Regions from separate parts of the Homo sapiens genome. Here region 1 is linked to region 2. The links are contacts of gene promoters, found by promoter capture Hi-C in human tissues and cell types (Jung and others, 2019). All regions are on one chromosome and are shown on one strand. The core of a region is centred on a gene start or on the middle of the fragment in contact, and the rest is flanking DNA. Distances in the headings are between cores, read along the strand shown.

Region 1 (6,994 bases), core at 2,469-4,968, 53 kb after region 2:
GCAAGGCATAATTTATTTTCATTTTAATATTTTAATATATATTAACTAATTTAACCTCAAAAAGCCATGCTCACCCCTCACTCCCATCTCTAGGAGTTATTAACCATATGTGGAGTGTCATTTCTGGATAGACTAGAGGTCTGCCATTGGGCCCACCTGTCTCTCTTCTTGTCACATTTGGGTTCAGTGCCAAGATCTGCCCTGAGCCCATTCCTCAAGTTACAGCCTCTGACTTCAGGGTCCTAAGCTATAACATGGGGGAATGATGACACTCACAGCCTTGGGGGCCTCAGTGGTATAAGGAATGCAAACATGCTTAGCAAACTATCAGGTGCAGTTGATTATTACACTATTAGTGTTTTGAAGTATTTCTTTCTTTCTTTTTTTTTTTTTTTGAGATGAAGTCTTGCTCTGTAGCCCAGGCTGGAGTGCAGTGGTGCGATCTCGGCTCACTGCAACCAGGATCAAGCGATTCTCCTGCCTCAGCCTCCAAAGTAGCTGAGATTACAGGCACGCGCCATTGCACCTGGCTAATTTTTTTTTTTTTTTTTTGGGGGACGGAGTCTCACTCTGTTGCCAGGCTAGAGTGCAGTGGCGTGATCTCAGCTCACTGCAACCTCCACCTCCCAGGTTCAAGCGATTCTCTTGCCTCGGCCTCCCAAGTAGCTGGGATAACAGCTGGGATAACAGGCATGCGCCACCATGCCCTGCTAATTTTGTATTTTTAGTAGAGGCATGGTTTCCCCATGTTCGCCAGGCCGGTCTCTATCTCCTGACCTCAGGTGATCCACCAGCCTCAGCCTCCCAAAGTGCTGGGATTACAGACATGAGCCACTGCGCCTGGGCCTCCTATGAGTCTTTAATGCCAAGGATGCTTCCTCAGGATAAAGGCTTATGTCCATTTCAGTGTCGACTGTCAGGGACTCAGCTGCAGACTCTTTTGACTCATCTGCTTTTTATTTGTTTTTAATTTTTTTGCAAGCCTTTATGCTGCTTTCCTGTCTTTCTCCTCTTCCTGAGTTCTCTTCCCCATACCTACAGCGTGGCCTCCGCACATACCAAGCTTGCAAGCTTGCTGTTTGCTGCAAAGAAACCTGGACTGACAATCTCTCTTCTGTCATCTGGGCAGCCAGACTGAGTGTCCCCTTCTACCTGGGTGCCTGTGTGCATGTCCTCTAACCCCTAACCCTTTGCAGCTTCTGTTTTTTTTTTTTTTCTTTTTTTCTTTTGTTTTTTTGGAGACAGAGTTTTGCTCTTGTTGCCCAGGCTGGAGTACAATGGCAAGATCTCGGCTCACCACAACCTCTGCCTCCCGGGTTCAAGCGATTCTCTTGCCTCAGCCTCCCAAGTAGCTGGGGTTATAGGCATGCGCCACCATGCCCAGCTTATTTTGTATTTTTATTAGAGACGGGGTTTCTCCGTGTTGGTCAGGCTGGTCTCAAACTCCCTACCTCAGGTGATCCACCCGCCTCGGCCTCCCAAAGTGCTGGGATTACAGGCGTGAGCCACCATGCCCGGCCAGCTTCTGTTTCTTTATGTATAAACAGTACTGTCATGAAGATGCAATGAGATGAATTTTAGCTCAGAGCCTGCCACCTGGTGACTTACCCATGTTAGGTATTGTGGTTACAGCCCTGCTGTCAAACCACTTCTCCAACTCTCTTTCTAGCCTCAATTCATCTGTCAAAGCATTTGGCCCCAGGATTTTGCTGCGTATTCAGAAGTACGACCTCACATCTGCAGAATGCCACTGGCTTTCACACGAGGCCTCCCAGAAAGGGATGCCAGGCCTCAGACACTAGCTGGTGGCTCTCAGGACTTGCCACTCCATTTTCGCATTTTTCAGGACCACATGGCATACAGTTGGTCTCACAGTCTTTCCTGTCTTCCCAGTGGTCAGCTGCAGCCCAGTTCTAGGGCTTCTGTGGGGGAAGACAGGAGAGGGCTTGGAGTCAGGACACTAAAATGTGTCAGACGAAGCTTTGCTTGCAAGGAGCTTACCACTTGGGTGGTGGAGAAGGCCCAGAAGGCACTACTACAGTGCTCCCAAATCAGGAAAAGATCGCTAAATGCCCGTACTACTCAGGATCACATGGGAGCCCAGAGTTGGACACCTGGATCAACTGGGAGCCTACCTGACATTGATGATGTTTGGCTAGAATACTGATGAATGAATGGGAGGTAGCAAGACCGACACTGAGGGAAGGGCATCCCAGGCACAGGGAAGAGCATTTAGGAAGGCTTGAAACAGTTGGATCCATTCTGGGAACTCCAAGTAATTCCATTCTTAAGTTGAGCCAGGGCTAGAAATCGTCAAACCACAACACATTCCAGCCATTGGTCTCTTTTTCTCCCTCTGTTCCATCCCATATAGCTCAATACTATAGCTAGATTTATCTTCCTTCCTTCCTTTCTTTCTTTTTTAAGATGGGGTTTTGGCCGGGAGCAGTGGCTCACACCTGTAATCCCAGCACTTTAGGAGGCCGAGGGGGGTGGATCACCTGAGGTCAGGAGTTTGAGACCAGCCTGACCAACATTGAGAAACCCCATCTTTACTAAAAATACAAAATTAGCTGGGCGTGGTGGCGCATGCCTGTAATCCCAGCTACTTGGGAGACTGAGGCAGGAGAATCGCTTGAACCTGGGAGGCAGAGGTTGCAGTGAGCCCGGACCATGCCATTGCACTCCAGCCTGGGCAACAAGAGCGAAACTCCGTCTAAAAATAAATAAATAAATAAAAATAAAATAAAATAAATTTGGCTCTTCTGATTTTAAAATTGACTGGGGCTCCCTATGACCTAAAGGACCAAGATCAAACTCCCTCTCTTGACATTCAAAGCTCTTCACAGCCTTCCCCCAAACTCTTTCCACGTCTCCTCCCTACCTTTTGTTATAGTTATAGCCACTTGGATGACTTCCTGTTCTTCAAGCAGGCCAGTCACCCTTTTTGTCCAGACTTCTCCCTCTGCCTGCAATGTTCTTTTCCCCTTCTTCCTTGGGCAAATTCCCCCTATCTTCCAAGACCCAATGCAGAGGACAGGTTTACTAGAAGCCCCTTCAGGGTACTCCCAGTGCCTAGAATCCAGCCTGTCATTTTGGTTGAATAATTAATCAGATCAAGAACATCTTCCCTGAGTTCCCAACAGAGACGCCCCCCCACACGCCCTCGTGCTCCCTGCACTCCTCCTCCATGCTATGTTGGAACTTCTTGAAGTCAGGCTTCATTTCTTTTCTGTTTCCTTCCTTGCTTCCTTCCTTTCTTTCTTTTTTTTTTTTTTTTGAGACAGAGTCTCACTCTGTCGCCCAGGCTGGAGTGCAGTGGCACGATCTCGGCTCACTGCAACCTCCGCCTCCCAGGTTCAAGCGATTCTCCTGCCTCAGCCTCCTGTGTAGCTACGACTACAGGCGCCCACCACCACACCCAGCAGTGGGAGGCTGCAGTGAGCTGTGATGGCACCACTGCACTCCAGCCTGGGTAACAGAGCAAGACCCTGTCCCTAAAAGAAAAAAGAAATGTTTGAAACTTACATTTTATTAACAGCAAAGATAAAGAAGCTCAACTCAAGGAAGAATGAATAACCCCTACCAAGTGATTTGGGAGCAATGACAGATTTTGTTAACTAAAGCAAACTCCAGCAGTAAGGACATGACACACCAAATCCCCAAAAGGGTCAAAGCTCTGGGTCACAGATAAAATCTTCCAGAGCAGTCGTTCTCAGACTGTCATTCTTGGCCATCATAATTATTGCCCAGGAACTTGCTAGAAATGCAAACTTTCGGCTGGTCGTGGTGGCTGACACCTGTAATCCTAGCACTTTGCGACGCCGAGGCAGGCGGATCACCTGAGGTCGGGAGTTCGAGACCAGCCTGACCAACATGGAGAAACCCCATCTCTAATAAAAATACAAAAAAATTAGCTGGGCGTGGTGGCACACACCTGTAGTCCCAGCTACTCAGGAGGCTGAGGCAGAAGAATTGCTTGAACCCGGGAGACGGAGGTTGCAGTGAGCCGAGATCGCACCACTGCACTCCAGCCTAGTGACAATGAGACTTCATATCCAAAAAAAAAAAAAAAAAAAAAGCAAACTTTCAGGACCCACCGGCTTACCAAATAAGCTACTGAGCAGGGCCCAGCCTAGTGCCATTACTTTTAATGACAAAACCCACAATTACTTTTGCACTGATACAATAGTAACATCAAGGATCACCGGTCATAGATCAGCATGACAAATATTATTACAGTAATAATAGGCTGAGCACGCTGACTCATGCCTGTAATCCCAGCACTTTGGGAGGCCAAGGTGGGTGGATCACCTGAGGTCAGGAGTTTGAGACCAGCCTGACCAACGTTGTGAGACCCCGTCTCTACTAAAAATACAAAAAAATTAGCCAAGTGTGGTGGCGGGCCTCTGTAATACCAGCTACTTGGGAGGCTGAGGCAAGGGAATCACTTGAACCCGGGATGTGGAGGTTGCAGTGAGCCAAGGTTGCACCATTGCACTCCAGCCTGGGCAACAAGAGCAAAACTACATCTCAAGGAAAAAAAAAAGACCCCCAAAAGGTCTAGCCAAGATCAAAATAACTGAAACCTTTTTGTGGACCAGAAATAAGCAAAACTGTTGATTGGGGTGGACACCCGGACCTGCATGGGGCCAAGGGAGGCCCTGGTGACTGGATGCTTCTCTATTGTGAGGCAGCTGGCGGTAAAAGCCCTGGTGTGGACAACCTCCTTGGAGATGAACAGACCCTGCAACCCAGCAGCTCCAACCCTAGGACACACCTGGAGAAATCTCACACAAGCCACTACTGCAGTGTACTGCTGGAGTGTACATGGCAGCATTGATTGAACAAGTGAAAAATGAAAACAGCCTAAATGCTCAACAGGAAAAGGATAGTGGTGAATCCACACCATGGAACATACTCCAGCAGTTAATATGGATGAGCTGGAACTTCAGGTATTGGCTGGGCGCCAGTTGCTCACACCTGTAATCCCAGCACTTTGGGAGGCTGAGGTGGGAGGATTGCTTGAGCCCAGGAGTTCGGGACCAGACTGGCCAACATGGCGAAACCTTGTCTCTACTGAAAATACAAAAATTAGCTGGGCATGGTGGTGCACGCCTATAGTCCCAGCTACTTGGGAGGCAAAGGCTGCAGAATTGCAGACCACAGGCATTCAGAGAAATAAACAAAGTAATTTGTTTCTTTTTTCTTTTTATTTTGAGAGAGAGTCTCACTCTGGTGCCCAGGCTGGAGTGAAGCGGTGCGATCATAGCTCTCTGCAGCCTCAAACACCTGGGGTCAAACGATCCTCCTACCTCAGCCTCCAAGGTGGCTGGGACTATGTGCACATGCCACCCGGCTGATTTTAACAACTTTTTTTTTTTTTTTTTTGAGACACAGTCTCACTCTGTTGCCAGGCTGGAGTGCAGTGGTGCGATCTCAGCTTACTGCAACCTCTGCCTCCTGGGTTCAAGAAATTCCCCGCCTCAGCCTCCCCAGTAGCTGGGATTACAGGCGTGCACCACGCCTGTAGGGACAGGGTTTCACCATGTTGCCCAGGATGGTCTCGATCTCCTGACCTCGTGATCCGCCCGCCTTGGCCTCCCAAAATGTTGGGATTACAGGCATAAGCCACTGCGCCTGACCTTTAACGACATTTTTATTATAGATGGGGCCCCACTCTGTTGCCCAGGCTTCTCTCAAACTCCTAGGCTCAAGTGATCCTCCAGACTTGGCCTCCCAAAGTGCTGGGATTACAGGCGTGAGCCACCATATCTGCTCAGTGGTAATTTCAGATTATGCCAAATTTCAAAGATTAATCAGGGAGATGTGAGAAGGTGAGTGGAACACATGCTAATTTATTTATTTAGAGACAGGGTCTCACTCTGTCACCCAGGCTGGAGTGCAGTGGTGTGATCTCAGCTTACGCAGCCTCAATCTGGGCTCAAGATCCTTGTGCCTCAACCTCTTAAGTAGCTGGGACCACAGGTGTGCACCAGCACTCCTGGCTAGTTTTTGTATTTTTTTGTAGAGATGGGATCTTGCTATGCTGCTCTCAGGCTACAGATAAGAATTTATATCAGGTGGAACCGAGAAACACATTATGTGCCCCTCATTCCTCCTGTTTAAAATTCCCATCTTGCCTTTTCCCTTTTCATATGTTAGGTTTTGAGCTCCTTGGCCTTAATTTTTTTTTTTTTTTTTTTTGCAGCTTATGGAAAACTGATATCGAGCTTGAGAATGTTGTGAGAGAAAAGCAATTTCAGGGAGACAAGAAAGAGAGCCAAGGCGCAGTGGCTCTCACCTGTAATCCCAGCACTTTGGGAGGCTGAGGCGTGTGGATCATCTGAGGTCAGGAGTTCGAGACCAGCCTGTCAACATGGTGAAACCCTGTCTCTACTAAAAATGCAAAAATTATCTGGGCGTGGTGGCACACGCCTGTAATCCCAGCTACTCAGGAGGCTGTGGCAGGAGAATCGCTTGAATCCGGGAATCCAGGAGGTGGAGGTTGTGGTGAGCCGAGATCGTCCCATTGCACTCTAGCCTGGGCAACAAGAGTGAAACTCCGTCTCCAAAAAAAAAGAAAGAAAGAAAGAAAGAAAGAGGATGTGTCTCTTTTCAGCAGCTGCAAAGTGGTAGACACCATTTCATGTCATAAAATTGATTCAAAGAATCTTGCCTGAATAAGGTGTGTAATTGATATACTCATGAAATTTGTTCTGTTTTCTGTTGCTAAAAGTGATACTTGGGAACAAGATACTAAAACATGCAGAAAATGGATGAATCTCAAAAACATGCTGTGTGGAAGAAGCCAGATCTAAAAGAGCGCCCCGTATACTTCTATTGATATAAAATTCTGGAAACACCAAATCTAATCCATAGTGACACAGAGCAGATCAGTGGTTGCCTGGGTCAGGGCTGGAAGGTGGATTGACTGGGAGGGGTCAGAGGGAACTCCCTGGAGTAATGAGAAAGTTCTTTTTTTTTTTTTTTT
Region 2 (6,839 bases), core at 2,379-4,878:
TGGGATTACGGGTGTGAGCCACATACCCGGCCTAATTAAAAAAAATAAAAATAAAAATCTGTAGAGACAAGAGTCTCACTATGTTGCCCAGGCTGGTCTTAAACTCCTGGGTTCAAGTGATTCTCCTGCCTGGGCCTCCCAAAGTGCTAGGATTATAGGTGTGAGACCCAGGCATAGTATTAAATAAAATGTTTCTCCATTTTCAGCAGTGACTGTAATCAACAACCAGGGCTACTGAACGCTGAGAGAAGAGCAGACACAGCAAGTCACTCGCTTTCCACATAGAGGGCACAGACCCCTCTATGTTATTTGGCTTGTGTGTCAGTATCATCCAGTATCATGGTAAATGTAGAGTTTCCATTAGGTTTTTTAAAAGAAATTGACAATACTCCCCCCTATGACTACCTTGCAGGCCCTGCAGGGCTCTGAGTCTCCTAGATGCCCCCCAAAGCCCCTTCAGAACTTAGGAAACTGGGCTTGCCTTCCTGGCTTTCCTCTGAACCAGCCTTCACCCTCTTGGGACCCAGGTTTCCTGAATATAAAATCAAGGTGCTGGACTTGGGGATCTGTTAGGGTCCTCAAAGCTCCATGACTCCGGCTTGGTAAATACAGCTGTCTGTTAATGGCAGAACAGTGACACACACTCTTAGTAAATGCAGATGCCTTCCCAAGACAGCTCCACAGATGGCGCATGGAGGCACTGGGTATGTTGCTATGGCTGGCCCACCTCTCTGAATACAGTGCCTGTTTTCCACAGGGCAGTGGGCTGAGACCGTCCATCCACTACTATCACTGGAGCTACTGAATTTCAATAGAGCTCTGACCTTGAACTCTTCCCTAAACTCCGAAGGTCTGATGATTAAGTCAGGCCCAAAAGAACAAACTGCCTCTCCAACTGAGTCTCTTACAGCCTGGGTCTCAGGAAGATTATTCTTACTGGGAGGCCCAGGAGTCAAGGGGCTGAAAGACAAGACTGTAATTAGCTTTCTAGAAACTAAAATGTGTTTTGGGGAAGATCTTGGAGACCATCTAGTCTAAGCATCACATTATACACATGAGAAACACGACAGCAAGGCAGAGCAGGGCTGGAACCAGGCCTCCCAAGGTTCTTCCCACTTGGCCACGCACAGCTTCTCAATTTGCTCCAACTAATAAATGAAAGCTTTCTTTTGAAGTGTCACCTACTTAGAGCCAAACTGATTACTTTTACACCCATTAGATCAGGTAAACAACTCGCCTAGTATCACAGGCTGAAATTTGACACCTTTTGCATTCTGCAGTTAGGCAGGTGCCTACTGGCCAATGAGGACCATTCTGAACTGTGGCAGATGGACAGGCACTGGCTCTACCTCCCCAGCACTGGCATCTTTGAACAGTTGTAATTTAAGTGACAACGTGAAAATTTTATTGAATCCTATATTTTTTGTTTTATAAAAATTAGTGGAGGCCAGGCACAGTGGCTCACGCCTATAATCGAGCACTTTGGGAGGCCGAGGCGGGCAGATCACTTGAGCTCACAAGTTTAAGACCAGCCTGGACAATATGGTAAAACCCCATCTTTACTAAAAATATAAAAATTAGCCGGGTGTGGTGGTGTGTGCGTGTAGTCCCAGCTACTTGGGAGACTGAGGTGGGAGGACGGCTTGAGCCTGGGAGGCGGAGGTTGCAGTGAGCCGAGATTACACCACTACACTCCAGCCTGGGTGATAGAGTCAAACCTCGTCCAGAAAAAAAAAATGGTGGAAAATGCTAACACTAAAGTTCTGATGCTATTGACCTTAGTCTCATCCATGGGACTCAGTGTGACCATCTTGAGGCTTCATTCATTCATGCTATGCTCAATTGTGAAGGATAAAACCCACAAGTTTAAAAAGTATGAATGCGCTGAGTGTGAGTGCAGTAGCTCACACCTGTCATTCCAGCACTTTGAGAGGCTGAGGTGCAAGGATCACTTGAGCCCAGGAGTTCAAGACCAGCCTGGGCAACATGGCAAAACCCTGTCTCTACAAAAAATACAAAAATTAGTCGGGCACGGTGGTGCACACCTGTAGTCCCAGGTACTTGGGAGGCTGAGGCAGGAGGATCGCTTGAGCCCAGGAGGTCAAGGCTGCAGTGAGCCGAGATCACACCACTGCACAAAGTGAGATCTTTTTTCAAAAATAAAAGAAAATAAAGTACGAATAAAATGCTGGAATATGATACTAAAAACTGCTATAAGGAGAAGAAACTCTTGGCATTTCATGATAGCTTTAATTCTCCAGGATTGGCACTTACTTCCTTACATGAGATTCTACTGCTTGACATTTGTACATCTGAACTGTATATCCATAATTTTTTTAAAAAGGTAACATATACTAGCTGGGGACTGCCTTTGGAGCAAAAAAGGCTAGTTTGAGACAATCTGTAAAAACCTAATATATGGCCGGGTGTGGTGGCTCATGCCTGTAATCCTAGCACTTTGGGAGACCCAGACGGGCAGACTGCTTGAGCCCAGGAGTTGGAGACCTGCCTGCGCAACATAGCCAGACCCTGTCTCTATAAAAAACAAAAAACAAGAACCTAATAGACTTGGAACAAACACCCATTCAAAGGCCAGTAGAGTTTTCCTGAAGTCAGTCATCCAGTTGATGCAACAAAATGCAGCCACTCTAGTTAAGGGTTAAACATCCTTAGGCTCTTTCCCCTGTAATAATTCAGAATCAGTTCACAGATATGGAAAGTGTCAATCGCTTCAGAACTGCTGAAAGATCTAGCTTAGGCATGGGGCCCTTATTCACCCAAAAGCAAACATCTTCCTCCAATCTGTTTCTTCACCGGTAAACAAAGGTCAAAAGACCTCCACTGCTCACCTAAGAGGCAACAAACACAATGGGGATGAGCCCTCACTAAGTCCAGGGTTTCCAGCCTGCCATTTGAGGTTCCCACAAGTAGCAATACGGGGAGGGGTGCACGTGAAATTTACGACATCTAAAAAGGGTCAAAGGCAGCAGTGCAGTCCCCCAAGCGTCGCAGGGGCTAACTCAATATCCCGTTTCTTTGCGTCTGACTGGAAACCAACCCAGCGCGGAACCACTGGGGCCCCTCGCGGCGCCAAAATCTTGGCAGCACTGAAGGCGGCGGACCTCGGCGAAATAAGTAAGGAAATCCCAGGTCGATGAGGGGGCGGGGGCCACACCCGACACGCCCACTAGGCCACGCCCCACAGCCCCGAGCGCGCGCGCGCGCGCCCGCCCGCCCCGATGAATGGAGACGCGCGCTCTCGGCGCATGGGCCCGCCCCGGGGCTCCCGCGGGGCCGAGCCCGGGGAGGGCGAGAACGCGCCCCGGGCTACCTCGGAGCCGATCATGTAGAACTCGCCGTCGTCCTCCAGCTGGAACTTCACGGGCTTCTGCCCGAAGGTCTTGCTCAGCGCCATCATCATCATTGCGGCGGCAGAGGCGGGCGGCCGGAGCCGGGCTGCGAGGGATCAGGAGGGCTGGGGCGGGGCCGGGGCGTGCTGGGCCGAGGGAAACCGAAGCCGGAAGGCGAAATGCGGACCGGGCCGGGTACTGGCGCCTCAGCCGGGCTCCTCAGCCGCCGCCGCCGCCGCAGACGACGACCAGGCCGCCCTCAGTGCGCAGGCGCTGGCGTTGACGCTGACGCGCGCGCCGCCGCTCAAACAAAAGGCCGGGCGCGCCTCCGCGGACCCCTTAAAGGAGCCACGACTAATTTCTCTTTCTCCCAGGCTGCCTCCCAAGTCGTGGTGTAGAGGACTTCTCACGGACAAAAATAGCCAATGAGGTCCTGACTCAAGCAGTGGCTTTCCCAGTCTTACAGCCAGGACTGGAACTGAGCCCAGGGGAAAAGCAACGAAGTGAGGCCTGAAGGAGGAGGACCTAGTATCTGGAAGCCTGGGTGGTCTGGGCATGCTTTGGGACCCCAATCTCGTGCCTTAGCTTCCCCACCCCTAAAACGCAGTGCAGCTGAGCAGATAGGCAGGCCCCTAGGAAGAGATATCCCAGTTCCGGGCCTACGGCTGTCCCTGCAGCTGTGGAGGTGGGCAAAATGACAACAGCGGATGAGGCTTGGCAATGTTCAAAGGCCCAGGTGGTATTTGGTTTGGCTGGTGCATCAGATGAGCGTTGGAAGGGAGAGACACCTTCCACCTTCTCCATTCCTCTCTTAGCCTACACTCTGCTTAACCGAGCCCTGCAGTGGGGAGTGAAACCAGGCAGCCCAGCCCTGTGGCTCTGCCTCTTGGCTCTTACAGCGCGAAGCTAGTGAAACTAATGAAAGTCTGAAAGCAATCATGATTGAATAATGCAGGGAGTAAAACAGTGGCCCACTACTGATGATTTCACACCGTTCAATCTAATGAAATTGCAGCTGTGGCTGGGCTCAGCGGCTCATGCCTGTAATCCCAACTCTTTTTTTTTTTTTTGAGGCTGGAGTCTCCTGCCTCAGCCTCCCAAGTAGCTGGGACTACAGGCACCCGCCACCACGCCCAGCTAATTTTTTGTATTTTTAGTAGAGACAGGGTTTCACCATGTTAGCCAGGATGGTCTCGATCTCCTGACCTCGTGATCCGCCCCCCTCGGCCTCCCAAAGTGCTGGGATTACAGGTGTGAGCCACTGCGCCCGGCCTTGTAATCCCAACTCTTTAGGAGGCCAAGGCAGGGAGGATCACTTGAAGCCAGGAGTTTGAGACCAGACTGGACAAGACAGCAAGACCCTGTCTCTACAAAAATTCTAAAATAAATAAGCTGGGTGTGGCATGGCGGTGTGCACCTGTAGCCCCAGCTACTTGGGAAGTGGAGAGGGGAAGATCCCTTGAGCCCAGGAGTTCAAGGTTATAGTGAGCTGATTGCACCACTGCACTGCAGCCTGGGCAACAAAGGGAGACCCTGCCTCTCTTAAAAAAAAAAAAAATGCAACTATGCTATTACGAAGACACACATGGGGCTGGAAGGTAGGGCAAGGAGACACTGGAGAGTTGGGAAGGGCAGTGACTGAAGTTGCTTTGTTCTGTATCCTCACAGTGGTGGGAAACCAAAGTACAGTCATCCCTCAGTATCCATGGGAATTGGTTCCAGGACCCCCTGCAGATAATAAAGTCCACAGATGCTCAAGTCCATTATATAAAATGGTGTCATACTTGCATATAACCTACACACACTTTCCTGTATACCTTAAATCATCTCTAGATTCCTTATACTACCTAATACAATGCAAATGTTATATAAATAGTTGTTATACTATTGTTTAGGGAACAATGATAGGGAAAAAAGTCCGTACATGTTCAGTACAGAGGTAACCATCCCTTATTTATTTATTTATTTATTTATTTATTTACTTATTTTATTGAGACAGAGTCTTGCTCTGTCGTCCAGGCTGGAGTGCAGTGGCATGATCTGGGCTCACTGCAAGCACCGCCTCCTGGGTTCACGCCATTCTCCTGCCTCAGCCTTCCGAGTAGCTGGGACTACAGGCGCCCGCCACCACGCCTGGCTAATTTTTTGTATTTTTAGTAGAGACGGGGTTTCATGGTGTTAGCCAGGATGGTCTCGATCTCCCGACCTCGTGATCTGCTGGCCTCAGCCTCCCAAAGTGCTGGGATTACAGGCATGAGCCACTGCACCCAGCCTATTTATTTACTTTATTATTTTTTTAGACGGAATTTTGCTCTTGTCACCCAGGCTGGAGTGCAATGGCACTATCTCAGCTCACTGTAACCTCTGCCTCCACGTTCAAGTGATTCTCCTGCCTCAGCCTCCCAAGTAGCTGGGATTACAGGCATGAGCCACCACACCCAACTAATTTTTGTATATTTAGTAGAGATGGGTTTTCACCATGTTGGCCAGACTGGTCTCAAACTTCTGACCTCAGGTGATCCACACACCTCGGCCTCCCAAAGAACTGGGATTACAGGCACGAGCCACTGCGCCCGTCCGCATCCTTTTTTTAAACATTGTTTTTTCTACCCGAGGTTAGTTGAGCCTACGGATGCAGAAACCACAGCTATGTATGGCAGGCTGGGCTGTGGCATGAGCAGATAAACCACCACTCTGGAGGATGAACAGAGGGGACAAGTAGGAAAGTGGGGAGCCAGTTAAGAAGCCACTGTAGCAAAATGTGATGTAGAAATGGAGCAGAAGGAGCCCTGAGCACTGTGCCCAGCCCCAAGGGCCAGAGGCTTGGGGGTGGTGGACTTCGACCCTGGCTCCCAGGATAGGGCTGGACAGTGGCCAGGCCTCCCCATCCTGGCTGAACATTCACAAAAGGAGACCAAGCAGGCAGGTAGAAAACAACTGTGTTTAATGACAATCCTCAGTTTAAAAAAAAAAAAAGAAGAAGAAGGTTTATACACACTGTACACACATTTACAATGGCTTTGGAGGATAGCAGTGCTGCGAAAAGGGCTTCAGGAGGATCCGGCCTGGGACAGGATTGAGGTATGTTGCAGCCTCCAGGGCCTGGGGTCTCCTGCATGAAGAATACCCCTCCCCATTTGACTGTGAACTTTTTGGCCTGGATTCTGGAGAACAGATTTCCAGGATTGTCAGCCAGAAGGCAGACAGATGCAGGCACCTACCAAGACCTGACCTCAGGAAGTGGCCCTGCCCTACAGCCCAGTTGCTCAGCCAGGGCTGAAGGCCATGGGGCCCCAGCACCCTTGCTTCAGTGCCAGCCCCTGGAAGGAACCTCACAACAGGGATACAGCAAGGACACTCCAGTTCCCCCAGTCCTGCCATGGTGCTACCCTGAGGGACAGGGATGGAGACAGGGCAGCCAGGTTTGCCAGGACCTGCATAGCGGGCCCAAGACTGCCCTTCCTCTTAAGTCATGCCAAAGCCTCCCTG

Evidence for each region. The method cuts DNA at HindIII sites, captures the fragments that hold promoters and counts their contacts. A contact is called where the count stands out against the background at its distance.
Region 1: a contact is called between a fragment that was not itself captured here and the fragment with the promoter of SMARCB1 in region 2, in 1 of the 25 tissues and cell types used here (spleen).

Annotation. Positions count from the first base shown.
Region 1 is chr22:23,731,095-23,738,088 of GRCh38, reverse strand. LOC124905088 (a long non-coding RNA gene) reads left to right here and starts at 4,487. Exons shown (of 2, transcript XR_007068020.1): 1 at 4,487-4,955; 2 at 6,212-6,994. The HindIII fragment of the contact is 4,384 bases long and covers 1,527-5,910 here.
Region 2 is chr22:23,783,755-23,790,593 of GRCh38, reverse strand. SMARCB1 (SWI/SNF related BAF chromatin remodeling complex subunit B1) reads right to left here and starts at 3,628. Exons shown (of 9, transcript NM_003073.5): 1 at 3,332-3,628. The coding sequence starts at 3,424. It overlaps MMP11 (matrix metallopeptidase 11), which reads right to left. Exons shown (of 8, transcript NM_005940.5): 8 at 6,278-6,839. The HindIII fragment of the contact is 20,978 bases long and covers 1-6,839 here.